Linked DNA regions of Homo sapiens: region 1 is linked to region 2. Evidence: promoter capture Hi-C in 16 types of primary human blood cells and fetal thymus (Javierre and others, 2016). All regions are on one chromosome and are shown on one strand. Each heading gives the region's core, a stretch centred on a gene start or on the middle of the fragment in contact. The rest is flanking DNA. Distances are from core to core; before and after follow the strand shown. Region 1 has its middle 25 kb from the start of RD3. Region 2 holds the start of TRAF5 (TNF receptor associated factor 5).

Region 1 (7,371 bases), core at 1,552-4,051, 190 kb before region 2:
ACCCCTCATTGGACACTTGAGGACGCTGAGTCCCAGAGTGGGTTAGTGATTTCACCAATGAAACACAGTGAGCTGGGATCAGAATCCACACCAGCTGGTTGATTCGCGGGTCAGTGCACACTCATACAAGTGATCTCTGAGCTCTTCACTGAGACATCCAACTGCCTAAGTGACATCTCTGTTTGGAGGTCTCAAAGATTCCCACAATTCGACATGCCTAAGGTGGAACACTTAACCTTCTCCTTAGCCTGGCTGGTTCTCTTACAGTGTTTTCTAGTTCCATGACTGGTGGTGCCACCTACCCAGTTGAGCAAGACAGGAATAAAGCAGGAGTCTCCCGACACACTCTCTCTCACTCTGCATAGCCAATCGATTACCAAGTTCTGATTTATCTTCTAAATGCATCTCCAGGCCCTCCTCTTTTCTCCATTTCCTGTACCATCACCCTATGGCAAGCTACCCTGCCCTCTGATCCCTTGACTACTGCAATAGCTGTCTGCCGACTACACTCCAGTCTGTTTAGGATCTGTCCAGCCCATTTCTCACGACGCAGCCTCAGAATCTTTACAGAACACAAAACTAGTCATGTCATACACGCATCTGCTTGGGGAAACTTCAGTGGCTCCCCTTTTTTCCCCCAACCGCTTTTATTTATTTATTTATTTTTTTGAGACAGAGTCTCGCTCTGTCACCCAGGCTGGAATGCAGTGGTACAGTGACACAATCTCAGCTTACTACAACCTCCGCCTCCCAGGTTCAAGCGATTCTCCTGCCTCAGCCTCCCGAGTAGCTGAGATTACAGGCGCATGCCACCACAACCGGCCCATTTTTTGTATTTTTAGTAGAGATGGGGTTTCACCATGTTGGCCAGGCTGGTCTCTAACTCCTGACCTCAAGTGATCCACCCACCTCAGCCTCCCAAAGTGCTGGGATTACAGGTGTGAGCCACCACACCCAGCCAATTCCCCTTGTTCTTAGGACCATGACAAAACTTAGCAATGTGACTTCAAAGGCCCTGCATCACCTGGCTCCTTTCTCTCTCTGCCACCCACTCTCACGGTGGGGGACACTGGCTCCCCCTCTCTCCACTCCAGCCATACTCTCTCCAACTACAGTGCCTTTCCCTGAAATGCTCACATCGCTCTCTTGGCCTGGTTAGCACCTTTCATCCTTTAGATTCCAGCCCACACCTCACTTCCTCAGGAAAGCCCTCCTGAGTGGACCAAACCTGCCTATGCTATGCCCTTTCAGCATCTGTGCCAGCCAGTGGTTTACACGTGTTTGGCAAGTGTTTGATGAATGACTTTGCCTCACTATGCTGTAAGCTCCAAGGAGCAGAGACAATGTCTGGTTTTGTTCATCATACCCTAAGCGCATAGTTCAGTGCCCTGCATGTTGAGAGGCACTTAAATATTTACTTATTGAACAAGTGAGTGAATGAATGCTCTGTTTTTTAAGACTTTCTCTAACAGCGACACTATGGAGAATAATTGGCACTTTTCATCCACAGATGGCCTCCTGTGCCTCTTTTAGGAAACAAGATGACAGGCTGGGTGGCGAGATGCATGTGAACACGGTAGGGCCATGAGACTTGCCTCCTAAAAGTTTCCTCTATGTTTTTGCAAAGAAGATCCCCATGTGTTGGTAAGTGGGGAGAAAAACAAATTGAAGTAATCTCTACCAGATGACCCTCTGTAGTTTGTTAAAGGTGTATGCACACATGAACCCACTGAAAAAGAGTAACAGTGGAGGGTGGCATACAGGTTACCTTCCTTCCTTTTTTCTTTCTTTCTTTTCTTTTTTAAATAAGTTTTCCATTCTGGATATGTATTTTTTGACAAAGAAATAAAAAGTATAAGAATTTTTCTCAATGTGTATATGTATATATACACATATGTATGTGTATATATATATATATATATCACAATCTCTCTCTCTCTCACACACACACACAGTTAAAAAAATGGAAGATCATGTGTTCAGACACCCGAGGATGAAAACCATATTTCCCCTCAGCCTGGGACCTTTCTGAAAGTAGAAATCATTTCACTTCCTCTCTTTATTTCTCTGAGCACCCTCCTCTCCTCATTTTGGTCACCATTATTAGTTTCAAGTGACAGAAAACCCAATTCAAAGTAACTTAGGAAATGTAGGCAGTCATAGCTTGGCCATTCCAGCCACGGTGGCTCCAGGAGCCTAAGCGATGTCCTCAGGAATTGGTCTTTCTCTGTTCCTTGGCGTGGCTCTCCCCTGGTGATGCAAGATGCCCATCAGCAGTCCCAGGCTCATGTAATCCACCAGTAGAGAGAGTTTCTCCTCCCACTAGTTCCAGCTACAGCCCTGGTGCTGATGATCTCTGTGACCAGTGTCAGAGGCTGGGGTAAAATATCTTGTGGCCAGGCCTGGCCCAGGGGCTTCCTTCTGGCAATGGGCCCTGTGGGAATCTTACTGACTACAAGTGGAAGGTTAAGAATTGGAAAGCTTTTGCCAGAATAAGGGGAAGGGATAATAGGCAGGCAAAACAAAAGGTGAGTATCATACACTGAGCACTTGGCTCTGCACACAGTAGGTGCTCACCCTAACAGGGCTGACTGGCTGGCCTCTGGCTGGAACCATCTGGGGAGAGAGGAAGTGGTGGTTTCACATCAGCTGCAGAGCCTCCACCAGGTTCAATTTTACATCTAGAGAGAGGGATTTGGAGTCCACGCAGGTCCCAGAAGGTGACAAGGTGGTAGAGAGTGATACGTGCCTCGTTGCATGGAAAACTGCCCTTGGGCTCCAAACATGGTATGCCCAGAGGCTGAGCTTGGAAATGGGTGAACCTTGGCCCAGCCTGGCTAAGAGAGCCACTCGGGGGCACATGCGTACCCTTGCCCTGCTCTCTGCGGGCTGGCCTATGGCCAGCAGGTGCCCAGTGAGAAGATTGTACTCCAAGGGATCCAGCCTTTTACACAAGTTATAAGATGAGGAAGAAACATGGCTTGTGTCTTTGGGAAGTTCTCAGCCCAGTGGGAGAACTGTAACATGACAAGACTAACCCTGTATTTGGGGGCTTCCGCCTGATGTGTCAGCCCCAGAGGGACGGCATGGTAACCCACTCTGTACCAGATTTTAAGCTTTATTCCCAAACCTGCTTTGCTTCCCTTACCAGCTCTTTTACCTTTGTCTTCCATGTTCCCAGTTCATGTTGACCACCTGGGCTGGTTCACTACCACCACACCTGGGAGTGAGAGAAGCCCACCTTCTCCCACTGGCTCAGCCACTCAATTGCCTGGAAGGCATTGTCAGGCAAGGGTGGCCTGCATCTCTACCTCAGCAAAAGCCTCCAGGAAGCCAAAATTAAAAGCGAGGCCAGACCAGGCAACAGTGGCTCACGCCTGTAATCCCAACACTTTGGGAGGCCGAGGCCGGAGGATTACTTGAGCTCAGGAGTTTGAGACCAGCCTAGGCAACATAGTGATCTGGAGTCCATCCAGGTCCCAGAAGGTGATGAGGTGGTGGAGAGTGATACTTGGAACCCATCTCAGTAAAAATCGTAATAATTTTTAAAAGAGAGAAAGAAGAGTGAGGCTGGTTCCTGCTGTACCCTGGAAGTGGTTTTTTCCAGGCGCCTCTTTTTCCAAATTATCAGTTTGAGGCTGAGAGGGCAGGTAAGGGAGAAAGTGACAGTGAGCTAGGCATGGGGAAGTGGCAGCAGGTTGAAGCAGGATCCTGAGAAGACAGCACGGAGGGGCCCTGAGCTGGCTGGGCAGGTGTGGGGCTAGGAAGCCACACCCAGCTCAGTAATTCCCAGGGAGCTTCTGGGAGAACCTGGGCTCAACAGGGAGATCACAGGGCCTGCTGAGGCCATATGGGTGAGGCCTCGCCCTTCTTCCTGCTTCCTCCACCATGCAGTTCCTGCCTCTCCTCCCCCTTCACCTTGCATCCCTCCTCCTCTGCAGCAGCCCTCCTGCTCACACAGTTTAAGAAAGGCTGGTGCTAAGCCTGTGTGCACCACAGGTGGCGTCATGGGCAGGGTCTTTCATGATTTTTCTGCTGCCACTGAGAAGACGGATCATCATCTTTCAGGCAAGTTTGTAATAAACATTTAACGAATGAATGGGTTAGTGATGAACATTCGTTATCTAATTTGAACCCTTTACCAACCCTTTGAGGTAGTCCACACAGTTCCTATTAGTGCTGTTTACAGCTGGGGAAACTGAGACTCAGAGAAATTATGTGTCATCACGTAGGTATGCAGTGACCAGCTGGACTCAGAACCCATGACCCTAGTTCTTGCACTAATGTCCACTGCCTGTCTCTTTCACCCACCTGCACCCTCACAGCTACTCCTTGGGGTTCAGAGGGGGATGACTGGGGCGGGAATAGCAAGGACACAGGCATCATGGGGGCAGATTTGACCACACTGGCTCTGGGCTGTCAAGACAGCCAATCTGGGCTGCTGTCTCTGGCTGCTGTTATGGCTTCATTCCCGGGGCCACTCCACTTAATACAGGGACAGTACTTCAGGTCCGTCTGCCCAGTGCAGTCACATCAGGAGCACCACGGCAGCCGAAGTGAAACCTGGCCAGTCATAGGCAATAACCTTTGACCTGCTGGCAGGTGGGTGTTAGGTTAAATGTTAAGTGACCGGCCGGTCACGGTGGCTCATGCCTGTAATCCCAGCATTTTGGGAGGCTGAGGAGGGCGGATCACCTGAGGTCGGGAGTTCAAGACCAGCCTGACCAACATGGAGAAACCCCATCTATACAAAAAATACGAAATTAGCCAGGCGTGGTGGTGCATGCCTGTAATCCCAGCCACTGGGGAGGCTGAGGCAGGAGAATCGCTGGAACCCGGGAGGCGGAGGCTGCGGTGAGCCGAGATAGCGCCGTTGCACTCCAGCCTGGGCAACAAGAGCGAAACTCCGTCTTTAAAAAAAATTGTTAAGTGACCTCAACTATGTGGCCATGGGGAATTAGAGAGAGTAGAATAGAATCCCCTGTGGGTTGCAAGTGGGAGATGCTGGGATTTTTGAGCATCTTTACTGGTGATCCCTACGGCTGAATTAGGAGAGCTCTCCTGGCACCCGGGAAAGCTTTAACCTCTGGAGTGGCCTTCACAGGAGACAGCCTCAGGATGCTGGGAGAGCCCCTGACCCTCCACAACCTACTACCAATTCCTGCGCGCCGTTCCTTGGGCATGAGGTCCTGAACCTGGTGGAGGAAGGGTAGCAATGCCTTCCATTGTATTGGTTACATGCTTCTTACAGTCAATTAATTGGTTCGATCTTTTCCAGACAGTGCCGGGCTAGAGGCTGACCTTCCCCACTCCCGACCTTGGCTTCTTGAATAACCTCACAGGCCACGGGGCATGCGGGGTGCGCGTGCGTGGCTGGGCCGGCGTAGTCAGCCGGGCGGGAAGGTTTACGGCTTTGGGGAGGCGCCGCCTTGCCGCCCTGACACCGCCCCGCCAGGCCAGCCCGCCGCTCGGTGGCCCCGCCGGCTTCCCGCGGTCGGGACGGGCGCCCCCTGCTGATTGTGGGCGGCGGCGCACCGAGGAGCGGCCCCTGGGAAGCCCAAGACCTCGCCGCGGCTCGAACCCCGCGACCCTCGGCCCGGAGGGAGGTCCTGGCTGCGGGGAGCTGCCCAGACCGCGGTGACTCAGCTAGGTGGCACCGGGAGAGCTGAAGCGGGCGCCCCGCTGGGCCTGGCCACAGGACGGTTAATGATTAATGTTCCATACCGGGTGGAGACGTCGAAGGGGAGGGAGGCCCAGGGGCGCGTCTTGGCCCTGGCTGTGCCTGCAGGAAGCAGAGGCCCAGACGGGGAGAGACTCAGGCCTGGGCTGAGGCGGCTGGGGGCAGGGGAAGGAGCAAGCCGTGAACTCTCTCCTCTTCCCACCCCGCACGCCGCCCCCGTTCTCGATGCCCTTCTCCCCTGCCCCGGGAGCCTCCAGGCGCCGCGCTCCTCCTCCCTGCCTTACCAAATGCCCATCCGTGCCCGCCTCGGTGCCAGGCACTGCAGGCCGCTTTCATATAAATGACTGATTGCCTCTTGCCCATTTTACAGATAAACGCAGAAAGCTCAGGTGATGTGCCCATGGGCTCTCAGCTCACAGGCAGAGTGGGGATTCGAACCCAGCCCCGGACACAGACCAGGTGTCCTTCTACTACCCCACCCATTGCTGCCCAACTCCAGAGACACCTACACCCCAATCTACCAACTTAACCACCTGGGCAGAGGAAATAAGAGGCGGTACTGCCCCCGCCTACAGGGATCGCAGCTCCATTCTCTGCCCTCATAACTCATTACCCTAATTTTAGTCAATCAGAAAATCGTGTCAGGGCTGGACGTCAAGCTACCAGGGATAATGGTTCCTGTTGTAAAATGCTCCTTTGAGCTGAAAGCAATCGTGAAGTGAGGCGCCCGGTTCAAGGAGTCAGCCTCCCGACTTGAGAAGCCAACTGTGGTGGTGCCACGAGGCTGCGATTCACAGGCTCCGGTGGAAAGACCAGGGAAGAAACTTATTTACAAAAATGAGAATAAAAAATATTCTGGGCCGGGTGCGATGAGCCATGCTTATAATTCCAGCGCTCTGGGAGGCCAAGGCGAGAGGATCACTTGAGCCCAGGAGTTGGAGGCTACAGCGAGCAGAGCACCACTGTACTCCAGCCTGGACAACAGAGATATTGTCTCTAACAAAAAGGGAGGTGGGGGGAGGAAATAGTATTCTAACACGAAGCTGCAGGTTCTGCACAACAAGTTTAGGTTTTCCTGTTCTCTCTAGGGTAAATGAGGCATGCAGGCGCCTGCACCCTCCGGGCAAGGACAAGGCGTGTGAGAGTCTCTGGGTCTGCCCCAGCGACGCCGTCGGGCCTCTGGGCGGTGCAGCCTGGTCCGGCATCATCCTGGACGCGCGGGTAATCAGGGCTGAGGGAGCCCAAGGTACATTCTGTCCCTCACCACAAGATGTCGCCGCTGCTAATGGTTAGAGGGCTCTCAGCAAGACCAACTCCCAACCCCAGACTCTGAGTCAGAAACTCTGGGGTTGGGGCCCAGCAATTCGTGTTTTTCACAGGCCCTCCAGGGGATTCTGAAACATGCTCAAATTTGAGAACCACTGGTAAAAGTCATCCTGCAGGTCTCACTGCCTCTGACGTCTACCCCTTCTGCTAGGTGGTCAGGGCAACTCAATCTGTTACCCACCTGGAGTCCCACCCCAGTGCCCAACTGGGGCAGGACCTGGGATCTCAGAGCTTCAGTTTTCTCAATTGCAAAATGGGGATAGTAGTACCCACCAGACAGGGCTGTCACGAGGCTAAAATGAGTGTCTGAGAATGCATTTGCAAAGGGTAAAACCCTACATAGTAAGGATATGTTGTGACTGTTG
Region 2 (7,468 bases), core at 1,338-3,837:
TAATCAGATGAGATGGGCTTCTCGTAAGCTGTACAGTGTTATTCTAATTTCTGGATTTAAGCAAGTCCTGCTGGGAGCTCAACCTCTCTCTGCCAAGCCTACCCAGCACTTGTTCCTGGCAGCTCAGACCCCAAGGGAGACGTACCCTGAATGAATTCAATTCGATTCAGCAAACATCTGTTTAGGCCTACTCTATGCCAGGTTCCAAGACACACATGAAAACAGACAAGGGTCTTGCCCGGAGTTTGCCTGGCTAGGCAGAGCTAACAGAGTGGATGTCTGTTCTTGTGGTGGTTAGGCCAGAGTCTCCAGCAGAACTTGCTCCATGTTGCTGGGGACAGACCACAGAGGCATTATCAGAATCTGGGTCCCCTTGCTGACCCCTCAGACGGAGGAAGAGGTGGGCAGATATGGCTCTCTGAGAAGCCAGGGTGAGGGGCCTGGAGCAGGGGAACAAGACACCTCAATGCTCTGATCCTGGTCCAGCAGTGGAGCTCAGGGAGCTATTTACCGCCTCAGTGCTTCACCCTCACAATCTGAGAGATGTAGAGAATAAGCCTGCTCTAACTCATGAGGGCGTCATGGAGGACGAAATGAGAACAAAACGACAAGAACAAAGAGAAAATGCTTTGCAAAGGAACGAGCTTTACAAACAAATAATTATTTTTCCTTCAAGGTCCTCCCCAGTAAAGCTGAGCTAATCAGAGGAGGTTTGTCTAAGTACTGAGGTGCCTTTCCCACTGCAAGCCTAACAAGACTGACTCTGAGGCATCTAGCTCCCCGACTGTGCAAATCATCCCCACTGAAACATCCCAGTCCCTATCGTCAGGACGTTCAGTGGACGGCAGCTCTTTTCCACACTCTTTCCATCGCCCTACTACCCAAGTCCAGCGGGCTTGCTGCTGACAGAGGGAAATACCACCATCCTACCCTGCCCGTCACAACAGGCCTCTCAGCCCAGAGGCCGTGGGAGAAGTCGCCTTCTCCATCACTTCCCATGTTCCAGATGCTGGCTCAGACACTTTCTCCTGCCTCTGTCCAGGAGCCAGGGATCTGAGAGGTGATCCATTCCATAGAGTTACAACAAAAACAGTAACTGTAACAAAATCAAAAACCTTTACAGAAGCTAGGCGTTTTCCACTTCCATCTTACATCCATCGTTCCTGCAGCAATTTCTGTCTTTCTAGTTCAAATTAGAGTTAGGGATGGAAGTGTTTCCACCCAAACCATCAATTACATTAACACCCCTGTTTTCAGCTTTGTGAGTACATAAGGCAGAGCAGCTGCACTGGGATTTGAGAGTTCCTAGCCCAGCCTTTTGCTGCCTAAAATTATCTCGCACACACCCAAAACTGTTCTATTTCCAGAAATGGTTCAACTAATTTCTTTGCATCTCAGGTCTTCCAGAGCCCTTTTAAAATGCAAGTATCTCTGGAGGAAATAACCATATTCCACTGGCCCCAGCCCAGTTCTCACACAGCACCTGCCCAATAAATATTTACAGAATTAAACTGGTTACCAGATGCCTATCCTCACAGGAGGTGGGTCAGAGCCCAAGGCTATGGAGGGTGGGGGCTGCAGGGGCAGCCCTGGCAGGGAGCCTCGCCTGGTTTCACCAACCTCAATGCTCGCCTGAGGCAGCTCTGCCTGCCACAGCGAGATAACTGAGTTCTCATGAAAGTAAATCTGAAATACCCAAATATGGAAACTTAGCAGAAGGAGGCCGAATGAGCAGAGAAAGTCGGCCAGCCAGAGTGGCCCAGTGGGACCCGCAGCAAGAGCGTGGCCCCGAAAATTCTCAGAACCACCAAGACCCTGCAGAACAGGAACAAAGTGGAGACCATCTGGTACGGAGAACTCAGAATCTGCGAATTCTCTGGGTGCCTCTGGGCAACTCCTTCCACCTCTCGGAGCTTTGGTTTGCGTCAAGGTTCCTTAGAGCTCGCCTTCTGGGGGAGGGGGGTAGCTGCTTTCTAAAGGAAGACGCGCAAACGAACAGCTGGTAGAGGCTTCCATTCCTTGCAATCCTGAAGTTTCATTCTGGAGTTGCTTTGATTGGAAAGCCCTGCAAAGGTGGAGAGGGTGCCTTCGGGTGCGGAAGGGGGCCAGGGCCTGGTTTGCAGTGCGGATGTGCGGGACGTGCCTGAAAGTCCTCCCCGCCAGTGCACCCCGACGGAACCTGGCCCCTCCGGTCCACAGCCGCCCTCTGGACCAGCTCCCCAGCTTTGGACCCCCAGTCTCCGCCCTCGCCACACCTCTCCCCGGCTAAGAAACCCGCTCCGCACCGCTCCCGCTGTCCCCGGGCCGTCGGCGGTCACCTGCCCCGCCGGTCTCCCGCAAGCCCGGGCCCCTCCGCCTCCCCCGGCCCAGCCGCCGCCTCGCGCCCTCCCCGCCGGTCGGGGACCGGCCGGACGCCAGCAGGCGCTTTCGGTTTCAAAGTAACTGGGACGAGATGAAAAGCGCTCGTCGGTGTCCCCACCCCGGCCCTTCCGTCGCGAGGGTGCCCAGGGCGGCGACCCGCCGGACTCACGTGGGGCTCGGCGCGCGGGCTCCGCGAGGCCGGTCTGCAGGCGCGGCTGCTGCTCCTGGCTGCGGCCGGCGGCGGCGGCGAAGCGGAGGCGAGGCCTGGGGCGGGGCCGGGGCGCGGGCGGAGGGGCGCGGGCGGGCGCAGGGGAAGAGCGGACGCGCAGGAAGGGGTCGGGAGGAGGCTGAGACCGTCATCCAGGCGGTTGGAAAGCTAACCTACCCGCTTCAGAACCGTTAGTATCTACAAGTCCAGTCATCTGATTTCCCTCACGTGCGTCTGAATTGTGGCCGTCTTGCTCTTCCGTCAGGCACAACAAGGCTCAGCCCGTCCTCTCCTGTGTTGACCCATTTGCTCAAGGCCTTGCTTGAGATCTGGCTCAAATCAGTCCTTCCTGGACTTTCCTTCAGGGTAGCACAAATTTGCCAGCCCTCCTCTTGCTGTTGGCCTAACACCAGCAATCTCTGAGAGTTGTAGAGCTCCCCGGTTGGCTTCCCAAACATCTCCTGTGGTCCTCAAAACAAGCTGGTGAAGTAGGCCTGGTCATCCCCATTTTACAGATGAGCTGTCTGAGGGCCAGAGCAGCAACGTGGAGTGACGTACCCAAGGTTAGACACGCTCAGCAAGCTCTGCAGCTGGAACTTGAATCCAGGTCTGCTGTCTGCCTGTCTCTCTCCCTCTCTCTCTCTCTATACGTATTTTTTATTTTATTTTATTTTTTGAGACGGAGTCTCGCTCTCACGCCAGGCTGGAGTGCGGTGACGCGATCTCGGCTCACTGCAACCCTGGCCTCCCAGGTTCAAGCAATTCTCCTGCCTCAGCCTCCCGAGTAGCTGGGATTACAAGCATGTGCCACCACGCCGGGCTAATTTTTGTACTTTTAGTAGAGACGGGGTTTCACCATGTTGGTCAGGCTGGTCTCATCTCTTGACCTTGTGATCCGCCTGCCTTGCCCTCCCAACAGGCGTGAGCCACCGCGCTTGGCCTGCGCACTCTTAGATACGGGCTCTTTCTTACAATATATTCTCTCCAAGGGCAATACATTCTATATAAATGAAATGGACCAAAATTCCAATTCTATCTAGATCCTTTACTTTCAGTTAGGCCACCGTGGGAAAAGTACTTAACTGCTCTGAGTTTCAGTTACCGTCCTCGTCAATAAAAGGGGAGAATAATACACACCTTGGGAGTCAAAAACTCAGATGTGCACAGGAGCTCGGCAGGAAACATACAGGAGGGAGGCAGAGGTTGTGGTCATGGAGAAAGGAGGGAGGCGCTGGTGCACTAAAGAGCAGGTGGAGGATCTAGTGGAGCAGCCACCACCCAGTGCCAGCCTATTGTTACCTGATCTCTTATTTCTCCAAAGAGCCAGAAATCCAGATCCAAACCTTTTTTGGTTGGTGAGTTAGATGAACCGCTCCGTGGGGGAGAGGCACTGGTGGGTGTTGCTTTGGGACTGTAGATCTGTCTCATAATCTTCTCATGAGAATTAAATGAGATGGCACTCCTGTACGCCTAACACAGAGTAGGTGCTTAGTGAACCCAAGTTCTCCTTCCTGTTCTGCCATACACTATACTTTCCCTCTCTTTTTGTGGGTGTGTATTTTTTGAGAGAGGTTCTCACTCTGTCACCCAGGCTGGAGTGCAGGGGCATGATCACAGCTCACTGCAGGCTGGATCTCCTGGGCTCAAGTAATTCTGCCGCTTCAGCCCCCAGAGTAGCTGGGACTACAGGCACACACCACTACGCCCACCTCCCCCAGCTCCTTTTTTTTTTTTTTTTTTTTTGAAGAGATGGAGACTTACTATGTTGCCCAGGCTGGTCTCAAACTCCTGGGTTTAAGCGATCCTCCCACCTCGACCTCCCAAAGTGCTGGGATTAAATGTGCAAGCCACTACGTCCCACCCGCTTTCTCTTACCATTGCCTGCTTCTTGCCTCTCTTCTCATTACTTCCAAGCATAATAAAGTTGATACTGTTTTTTAGAAGTTATATCTCCTTTCACTGGCTGGAACATCAGTGTCTAGTATGCATACATGCAGGTATGCTCAGAATCCCTGGTCCTGTCATTGACTGTAATTTGCTTCTCTCTCCTACTCCTCTCCCCACCAACTAAATAAAGCAGTCAATTGTTCCAAAAATTACATCCAAGCCTTAAATATGATGGAATAAAACCTGGGATAGAGAGGTGGATCTTTATTGTGGTGGGAAATGGGGGCCGCATAACTCGAGGGCTGCGTCTAAGTGGAAAGGGTAAAGGAATTTTAGACGGGTATTAGTCAGAAGTCAGTAACATAGTCCCAATTCCCTGTTGATCATAAAGCGGAATTTGAATCCTGTATGTACATAAATGCACATATAAAAAAACATTAAATACCTTCAAGTGATAACTAACGTTTATTAAGGTTTCTTTTTTTTTTTTTTAGATGGAATCTCGCTCTGTCACCCAGGATAGAGTGCAGTGGCGTGATCTTGGCTCACTGCAACCTCCACGTCCTGGGTTTAAACAATTCTCCCACCTCAGCCTCCCGAGTAGCTGGGACTATAGGCGTGCACCACCACACCTAGCTAATTTTTGTATTTTTAGTAGAGATGGAATTTCGCCATGTTGGCCAGGCTGGTCTCAGATTCCTGATCCCAAGTGATCCACCCACCTCGGCCTACCAAAGTGCTGGGATTATAGGCATGAGCCTCTGTGCCCGGCCTATTACGTTTTATATACCAGGTACTGTGCTCAGTGTTTTTTATATTAACTCATTTAATAATCAACTCCATTTTATAGATGGAAAATCTTATCTATTGAGCAATTTGCCCAGAATCACAAAATTCTTAGTTTGAGAGAGGCAGAATTTGAATTCTGGGAAGTCTGGTTCTGGTACTCCTAGCCACTATACCCTACCCCTCAAATAAATGACTGATGTGAATTCAAACAAAACAACTTAAAGACAAATTTTAGTACTTTTAGTGTTTTGAAAATATTCAGCATTAAGTTCAACATTATATCTAACATTGAAGAGAATCCAACCTTCAAACTAAATTCAGCTACAAAATAAGACCAGGGCTGAACTATACACTACAGTTTTATGCAGAAGAAAAGCACTAACCCTTTTATCTGTTGCTTCTAGACACCGTAAGATTGCCCCAGACGCCCGAAGACATGGATTTCAGCTGTTTAATTTGCTGTATAAATTAGGGTGAGAGACTGCAGCCCTGGCTGCCAATGTAAAGATGGTGCTGATGGAGAGGTGAGGACGCCGCCTACTGGAATAGTAGATGGATGCATTATCTTCCTCAGGCTGCTCCTCTGTGACGAGACTGATCAATGTAGTGAGTTAGCTTGCAGGGCAAAAGTTCATACTTCCCATCACCTAGAGATCAGTGAGATCAGATAAGGAGGGAAAATCCTCTCCTTGGGCCATAGATTGCGACTTTGACTCCATTGCAAGTTACAATGGAAAGTCTTTGTCTGTAAACAGAACCACACATGGAAAATGTGATATACTGTAGCAGCAAACCACTTCCAGGCAAAATGCAGATCTCAGGGTCTTGTGCACAGAGAATACTCAGCTTGCTCACTAAGTAGGTGTTGTATTGAGACAATATATGAATGACTGATCCCTCTGCTTCCATCAAATAACCTTTAGCTCAGCTCTGCCTGTCAGTGTGCTGACCACCACAAGAAGAGAGGCGGGGAGTACTGGGATGGGGCAGGGACCGATGTAAATTTTTTTAAGCCTCCCTTTGCAAAAGAACCTGTGTATGTGCATTCAGCAGCTGCACCTTTAACTTAGGAGCTTAAGAAAAAACCATGTTTCTTTTGTTCTACCTTGTTTTACTCTATTGTTATTTACTGTGTTATAGGGTCAGCACCAGTTGAAAAAAGCAGACCTGTACTGTTCCTATGGCCATATATTATGTATTTATTCCAGGGGATCCCCTGCTTGATACATAAACACACCCTTCTTTATTCCTGTTCATGGTTTAATTGTCTGATGGTCAGCCTTGGCTGGAGAAATGAGATTTTTATTGTTTTTACATTAGACCTCCTGTCTTCATTGTACACCTGGCTAAGTATGAATTCTGTCCTCTTTGACAGTTTCTTTAATAAGATTCACACATGCAATTCCTATCACTGCTAGGAAAACATTTTAACATATTAATTCTGCATAATCACCAGAAGCCATTACAATATAGATTTAAAAGTTATTGTTTAGCCTTAGGAATCATGAAGTAAGATAATAGGTTTGATTGGCACAGTTTGGTCTTGGATTTTTTAATAGGTTGGTAACAAGGAAGACCATTTATTTGGTATTTATTTTTGAGAATGGTGCTTACTCTATATGCTGAGATTTCAAGCAATGATCTTGGAACCCTGGTTAGTCACATCTTCCATTTCACAGAAAACAGGACAGAAGCATTAGAAAGAAAGGCATAAGCTCAGGAAGGGCCCATCCTAGGAAAAAACACAAAGTTCAAGGGTCTTTGACTCTAATCACACCTCAGTATTCCATGACCTTGCCACTTCTATCCTCTGAAATCCCATGCTACTTTCTGTTGGCACAAATGAGGGCCTCTCATTGTGATACAGGTTTTGTACAGCCCTTCCAGTTCCATACTTCTTCTTCCTTGTTTAAACAACTTTACTGATGTACTTTTAATAACATAAGATTCACCCAATTGATGAATTTTAGTAAATGTATACAGATGTGCAGCCATAACCACAATGAAATTTTAGAACAAATCCATCTCCCCGTGTCCATTTGCAGTCAATCCACACCCCCAGCCCTGGCCTCAGGCAAGAGATCTCCTTTGTCGCTATAACTTTGCATTTTTTGAAAATTAATATGAATAAGGCCAGGCGCTGTGGCTCACGCCTGTAATTCCAGCACTTTGGGAGGTTGAGGCAGGTGGATCACAAGGTCAGGAGTTCAAGACCAGCCTGGC

The links. The method cuts DNA at HindIII sites, captures the fragments that hold promoters and counts their contacts. A CHiCAGO score of 5 or more calls a contact.
Region 1: a fragment that was not itself captured here is called in contact with the fragment with the promoter of TRAF5 in region 2 in 1 of 17 cell types (total B cells); the score reaches 5.2 in total B cells.

Annotation. Positions count from the first base shown.
Region 1 is chr1:211,513,738-211,521,108 of GRCh38, reverse strand. No RefSeq gene overlaps it. Among named protein-coding and RNA genes, the nearest start is that of RD3, 25 kb to the right of the region's middle. RefSeq lists an enhancer at 2,162-2,211 and silencers at 5,422-5,781, 6,794-6,883. The HindIII fragment of the contact is 635 bases long and covers 2,484-3,118 here.
Region 2 is chr1:211,321,952-211,329,419 of GRCh38, reverse strand. It overlaps TRAF5 (TNF receptor associated factor 5), which reads right to left and starts at 2,587. Exons shown (of 11, transcript NM_001033910.3): 1 at 2,531-2,587. RefSeq lists a silencer at 2,293-2,662 and enhancers at 2,723-3,112, 3,382-3,883. The HindIII fragment of the contact is 10,339 bases long and covers 1-7,468 here.